Linked DNA regions of Homo sapiens: region 1 is linked to region 2. Evidence: promoter capture Hi-C in human tissues and cell types (Jung and others, 2019). All regions are on one chromosome and are shown on one strand. The core of a region is centred on a gene start or on the middle of the fragment in contact, and the rest is flanking DNA. Distances in the headings are between cores, read along the strand shown. Region 1 has its middle 350 kb from the start of PRR16. Region 2 holds the start of PRR16 (proline rich 16).

Region 1 (3,832 bases), core at 934-3,433, 350 kb before region 2:
ACATTTCTGTACATCAGTAACGTTGAAGCTGAGAACCAAATTCAGAGACCAATCCCATTTACAACAGCCACTCAAAAAAATAAAACACCTAAGAATACATTTAGCCAAGAAAGTGAAAGATATCTACAACAACTACAAACACTGCTGAATGAAGCCATAGATGACACAAGCAAATGGAAAAACATTCCATTCTCATGAATTGGTAAAATGAATATTGTTAAAATGACCTTATTACCCAAAGCAATTGACAGATTCGACACAATTACTATCACATTTCCAATGTCATTTTTCACAGAATTAGTAAAAACAATCCTAAAGTTCAACCAAAAACAAAAAACAACAACAACAACAAAAAAAGACCAAGCTGGGCTCAATGGCTCACACCTGTAATCTAAGCACTTTGGGAGGCTGAGGCATGCGGATCAACTGAGGTCAGGAGTTCGAGACCAGCCTGGTCAACATAGTAAAAACCCATCTCTACTAATAATGCAAAAATGAGCCAGGCATGGTGGCAGGCACCTGTGATCTCAGCTACTCGGGAGGCTGAGGCAGGAGAATCTCTTGAACCTGGGAAGCAAGAGGTTGCAGAGAGCCAATATTGTGCCCCACTGCACTCCAGCCTTGGTGACAGAGCCAGACTCCATCTCAAACAAACAAACAAACAAAAGCAATTCCAATAGCCAAATCATTCCTAAGTGAAAATAACAAATCTGGAAGCATCATATTTCATTTCCTTTCTTCAAATTACAGTACAAAGCTATAGTAACTAAAGCAGCATGCTACTGACAAAAATAGACACATAGAGCAATAGAAGAGGAAAGAGCACCCAGAAATAAAACTACATACTTATAACCAACTCATCTTTAATAAACTTGACTTAAATAAACAATGAAGAAAGGATACTCTATTCAATAAATTGTGCTAGGAAAACTGGCTAGCCATATGCCAAAGAATGAAACTGGACCTCTATCTCTCACCATAAACAAAAACTAACTGATGGATTAAATATCCATATGTAAGACTAGAAACTATAAAATTACAAGAGGAGAACCTAGGAAAAACTCCTCTGGATATCGGTGTAGTCAAACAATTTATGAGGAAGACTTCACCAGCAAGTGGAATAAAAACAAAAATACACAATCAGAAGTTAATTTAACTAAAATGCTTCTGCACAGCAAAATACATAATCAACAGAATAAACAGCCTACAAAATGGGAGAAAACATTTGCAAATGATACCTCTGGCAAAGGATTAATATCCAGAATCTGTAAGGAACTCAAACAACAAGAAAAAAACAATTCCATTAGAAATTGGGGAAAGGCCATAAACAGATATTTCTCAAAAAAAGAAATACAAGCAACCAACAAAGATGAAAAAACTCTCAACATCAGTAATCACCAAAGAAAAGCAAATTAAAACCACACTGAGATATCACATTTCACCAGCAGAATGGCTTTTATTTAAAAAGTAAAAAACCCCACAGATATTGATGTAGATACAGAGAAAAAGGAATGCTCATACACTGTTAGCTGGAAAGTAAATTAATTCAGCATCTATAGGAAACAATATGGAGATTTCTCAAAGAACTAAAAATAGAACTACCATTCCACCCTGCAATCCCACTGCTGGATATCTACCAAAAGGAAAGGAAATCATTAAATTAAAATGATATCTACACTCTTATGTTTATTAATAGTGTTATTTACAATAGTAAAGTCCTAGAACCAACCTAAGTGTCCATCAACACATGATTAAATAAAGAGAATGTGGTATATATACATATATATATGCACCATGTAATACTATGCAACCATAAAAAGAATCAAATCATGTCCTTGGCAGCAACATGCATAGGACTGGGTGATGGGTACACTAGAAACACAACCCCCACCATTACACATGTAATTCTCAAGTTACAAACAAGTACATGCACCCCCTGAATCTAAAATGAAATAAAATTAAGAGGGATAAGTAATTATCATCTGGGAGAAAATGTAGCAAATATTTATCTAACAAATAATTTGTATCCATAGTACATTAAATAATTCTACAACTCAGTATAACTGACATAAATAATTCAATATAAAATGAACAAATACTTGACATTTCACAAGGAAATAAAAATAAAAGTAAATAAACGTATTGAAACATGCTTAACATCATTAGTCATTAAGAAAATTTAAATTAAAACCAGAGAAAATATCATGACACACCCACTATAATGGTTGAGCTGCGTTTAAAAAAACAAAAACAGAACACTAACAACCCAAGTGTTTACCAGAATGGGAAACACCAAGAACTCTCATAATGTACTATGGGAATGTATACAATAAAAGAATTTTGAAAAACTGCTTAAAAAATTCAGCATATACCTTATTCATTACCCGGAAATTCTAATCCTAGGTATTTGTGCAAGAGAAATGAAAACACACAAAGCCTTGTACAAAATACACACAGCAATACTCAGAAGCAAAAACTAAAAACAACTGAAATATTCATCAAGAGAAAAATGAATAAATGTATTTGATTGTAATATAATTATATTTTAGAATATTGCTCAGCAGCAAAAAGGAATACAATTCTTACATATACGACAATATAGTTGAATCTCATAGACAAGCTGAGGAAAAGAAGTTGGACATGAGAATATACACTTGATGATTCCATTTATGTAAAGATATAGAAAAGTCAAAACTAATGTGAAACAAATAGTCGCCCCAGAGTGAGTAGACATTGAGTGTTAGGGACACATGAGAATTTCCATAGTGATGGAAATTTATATCTTGACAGAGTTGTACAAACATCTATCAAACTCATTAAATTTCACATTTTAGATCGGTTCATTCTTAATGTATCTAAAATTTACCAAAAAATAACTTTAAGCAGATATTGAATTTTAGTTACTAGGTTTGCTTTTCTTGATATTATAAGTTGGCAATTTTGAAACTATTCTGTCTATATTCTAGAGTTGAGCAAATGAATATAAATTTTGGGAATAGTGGGAGCCATATTTTTCACTGTTGGGGAAATAAATTACAAATATGGAAAAGGGAATGTCCAAAGAGTATATTGTGTTGTTGATTTTGAAAGAGAACCATCAGTATTAACTCATGGCTTTTAATATATAGGTAAAACAAAGAAACAAATACAAATAAAGAAATAAATACAGTGTGTATATGTATATATACCTTAATATCTTGTGTATATATATATTTTCACTCTGCCTAGAAGCAATAAATTACCAGTAGCAATGAATACATTTAGCACTCAGAAGCTTGGTTACTAAATACTATTTTTCATTTGAAAGGAGCTAGACTTTCTTAGAGAAGACTGATTCCAGATCTTGGGCAAGGAAAATGCAAAATAAGCCTATAACATATTTGCCAGAAAGTAATAATATTTTTGAAGAATTACAGTAATACATAAAAAGTCAAATTGAAGGGGTTCCTAATTCCCAAATCTGTATGAATTTGACTATTATCCAAAATACATAATTATAATATTACATTATAACCCATAGTGTAAATTAAGAATCCATTATTCCATTCTAATATAAATTAACAAGCAAGTAGGACAATTTCTTACAGAAAAATGTCAAATGACAAAGAAGGAATCACTGAATTAGGGAATCATCAATGGATGCTAAAACTAGTCAGTAAACGTTTGACTGATAGTTGAATATCTACATATTAAACTCCTCCAGACTACTGATTAGTTGCAAGTGAAAAATAGCCACATTACAGTGGAGAAGAATAGTAGTCTCCACCTTAAGTAATCAAAGTTAATATGAGCAATATAGGTATAAAACAAACTCATGGGCCTCCTGATATTC
Region 2 (3,705 bases), core at 456-2,955:
CATTTTAACAGACTTGCATTAGGTAACAAATGCAGAGTTCAGTTCATAGAGGTAACGGGGGAAGGGGAGGAAGACGAGGGGGCTCTTGAAATTTGGTTTGGAAATTGAATACAGGAGGTTAATCTCTAGAGGCCAGTCATCCAAACAACCCTCAGTCTCCTCCCCGTTGGCTTCAGAAACAGGATTACAATTTTGGACCTAGACTACGCCCCACCCCTTTTCCCGCTGCAGCCACCGCCACCTTCGAAGTTCTAGTCTTAGCTCTCACGCAGCGGAGCTGCGGACTCCCTCACCGAGAACCGCACCAGGACCCCATTCAGTAGTGAGCGGCGCGCTGGGACTCTGCTACCAGCTCCGCGACGCCGCCGGCAGCCAGCCTGGCTCGGGAGACCCCACCCCTCCCAGCCCGGCCCCCGCCCCCGCCCGGAGCCGCCGCCTGAGTTACGCAGCCTCAGCCCTGACACCTTCTCTGCTTCTTTCCATCTGGATCACCTGGGGCTAGGGGCGGGCGGGAGTAGGGCTGAACCGAAGTGGGATAGGAAAAGCGGGGAAGAACCGAAGCAGTCCCAGCTGCAGAGAGCCAGGACGCCAATGGCAAGACCCCGGCCACACATACACTCTCCTGCGCGTCCTGCTTCTCGGGTTCAATGCCAAGTGGCGACAGGGTGGAAGGAAGGAAGCAGAGGTAGGGTGGCGGGAAGGCCCAGAGTTACTGGTAACGACGTTCGGAGGAGAGCAGGGGATGCTTCAGAAACTGAGAAAGTGAGAAAGTCCCAGACCCCCTCCTTAGCCCCAAGGCTGCCAGCAGCCCGGGTCGCCTTCCCTACAGCGAGGCTCGAGAGACAGGGAGGGTAGTCTGAGCCAAGCTTCCTCCAGGCTGCCCTCCCTGATCTGGCCCAGGGCCCAGAACCCGGCCCCTCTTCAGCCCTGACTTGGGGAGGCTGACAGATAGGCAGCGGACTTGCCAAAGGACTCTGGGGAAGCAATAGGGCAGGAGAGGAGCATCTTGCACGCTCCAGCCGGGCTGCTCACGACTTCCTCTGCCGACACACCCCCAGCTAACCCTCTCCCCCGTCGTCACACACACAGATTCAGAGACACGCGTGCGTTCATCCCTCCCACCAGCCCAGGTCCATCGATTAAAACACTAGTTGATTTCTTCCTGATTAAAAAAAAAAATTAAAAAGTGCAACAACAACTCCTCTCAGGACTCCAGGAGCAAAGAAAGTCCGTCTGCAGGCGCCTTTTCTGTAGTTTCCCAGGAGTTTGGAAATCTGGCTGTCCCTGCTGAAAATCGGAAAGGGGACCCCGGAGGGGTCGAAGGGTGCCGAACTCCCTCCCCACCCCTGCGCCTCTCACCTCCTTAAGTTCCTTGGCCACGTCCTTCAGGTCGCCCAGGACTAATTCCAAATCCTCCACGATGATCTTGATCTGTTCCTTCACCTTGGTTTTGGAGGCTGCCGGCGGTCCCTCGGCTGGACAGGACGAGGAGGGGTTCCCCTTGGACTTGGCTGACATTCTTTGGGGGCAAGCGAGGCAGGTCAGGACAGGCGGGCGAGCGGAGGCTGCTGCGTGCCCCCGTCCCTGGCGCTGCTACGGCCGCTGCCGCCCCGGTCCCCCCACATCTTGGGCGCTCCCTGGGCAGCGGCGAGTGGCTGCGCTCCGCGCTCGGCCGGGCGGCCGCACAGTGGTGCTGCCATCAACTCCCGAGACGCGGCGCTCGGCTCGGGGCTGCAGACGGGCGAGCAGCGCGCCTGCGCCTCCTCCCGCCGCCGCCCGGCGCTCTCGCGCACACGCGCTCGCTCCCCGCCCGCGGAGAGGGGCGCCGTGCTGCCGCGCCAGGGTTGACGCTTGCAGTCCCCTCGACGTTGCCCTTCGAGATATCTCCCAGATGCCACCTTGGCATCAAGGTGGGGGAGACAAGTCCGTGTCCTGCCCGCCCCCTCCTCTTGGTTCTGAAATGTCCCCATCATCTCAGCCTGCTTGCTGTATGTCATCTCACAACTAGCCTGGATTCTTTCTGCTTCACTTGCTAGCAGGGACCTGGATCAATTCAGAAAGAACCACAGTGGGATCAGGAGTTGGAGACAGTCTGTAAAGTGGCCCTACAGATTTATCCAAACCCAAATGATGTCCAGAGGCCTTTAATCAATCTCTTGGTGACCTGCGAGTTAAGCAGACTTCTTAACTTCTGCAAGAAAAAAGGGGGGGGGGGGTGCACATAACAGCTAATGGTCATCTATTGAAACCATGAAATTCAACCAGTGTTCTTGAAAGAGGTACCCTAATCCTGCTAATTCCACAAAGCTAATACCGGATTTATTAATTTGAAGTCCCCACACCCCAAATCCTCTCTGATTGTCTCAGTCATCTTGGCTGTATGTCTTATTTGGCCCAACTCTTTTTTTTTTTTTTAACTGTCCTTCCTCTTTTTGTGACCTATGCTGATTTACATTTTGAGTGGAGTGGGGGAGACATCGTATTTGGACCTCGTGAAGGAGCTGAGTAAGAGATTGCCTCCAACTTCTCTTTCATCATTTTTTAAACCTCCATTTCAACTCTTTTGCTACTAAACAAATAGGAAACAACTTTCTGACTGTTCTGTCAAAAAGACCCAAGAAGGGAAGTTAATAGGAAGCCTTCGGTTCACTCTCAGTAGGTGTCTACAATTCTCATTAGCTAGAATTTTAACTTCCTTAGTTGTAAACCCATGGGCTATTAGCTACTGACCCAGCAGGCTGGCTCTACTTTATTTTCTTCACTGCACACTCCTCCAGATCATTCTTTTAATAGGCTTCCCCTTTTCGTCGTGCCTTAGCAAGGCTCTCTGTTTCTTGCTTCTCACACTCTGGGTAGCTCCACTGTGCTACACATAAAGAAAAGCTTGGCAGCTCTCCTCTTCCCAGTTCTGTAGGCTCTTAATCAATCACTCTCTTAATCCTGGACAATTCATCTTTACAAAACCTTTGGAAGTCATATGTGGAATATAGAGGAAGAAAGAGAACAGAAGAAAAAATTGAAATTTGAAAGTGGTGTCAAAAGAAAACCATTGAAAACTGCATTGAAAAATCAGGGGAAGAAATGAGAAAAGGTGAAAAGCAGATGCTGCTGGAAAGACTTAAGAAGAGATTATAAGAACAAGTCTGCAGCATGCAAACTGGAGAAAAGAAAAAGAGAAGAAATGATTAAAAGTGTGAAATAAGTAATATGCTTGAGTTCTCTGAGGTAGGGAGAATTAGATTTTTAAAACATCCTTTTTCTCCTCAAATTCTTTATTTTATAAAAAATATAACATTAAAATAATTATATCAGGTTTACAGACTCCCCAAAATTGTCAAAACTAGCAAAAGCTAATGGTAGGGGAAAAGAGAAAGTACTATTCTTCTAGATTGGAATTATTTTTGACTCTTAATAGTAGGCAAGTGTGTAAGAAAGCCGCCAAACTCAAAGTTAAGTGACTTTAGACAAGGATATGGGAGAGGAGGAAAGGAAATTGTGATTTCCCTCACAGTGACAAAATAATCCTCCCACAATATAAGAAGATGTCCATGCTACTCTGAATCTCATTCACTAAAGATTAAAAAAAAAAAAACAAAACAGGCTAGGCACAGTGGCTCATGCCTGTAATCCCAGCACTCTGGGAGGCCGAGATGGGTGGATCACAAGGTCAGGAGTTCAAGACCACCCTGGCCAAGATGGCAAAAC

The links. The method cuts DNA at HindIII sites, captures the fragments that hold promoters and counts their contacts. A contact is called where the count stands out against the background at its distance.
Region 1: a fragment that was not itself captured here is called in contact with the fragment with the promoter of PRR16 in region 2 in 1 of the 25 tissues and cell types used here (IMR-90 fibroblasts).

What each region holds. Positions count from the first base shown.
Region 1 is chr5:120,809,770-120,813,601 of GRCh38, reverse strand. No RefSeq gene overlaps it. Among named protein-coding and RNA genes, the nearest start is that of PRR16, 350 kb to the right of the region's middle. The HindIII fragment of the contact is 3,650 bases long and covers 359-3,832 here.
Region 2 is chr5:120,462,300-120,466,004 of GRCh38, reverse strand. It overlaps PRR16 (proline rich 16), which reads right to left and starts at 1,705. Exons shown (of 2, transcript NM_001300783.2): 1 at 1,360-1,705. The coding sequence starts at 1,518. RefSeq lists an enhancer at 830-1,331 and a silencer at 1,737-1,786. The HindIII fragment of the contact is 4,324 bases long and covers 1-3,705 here.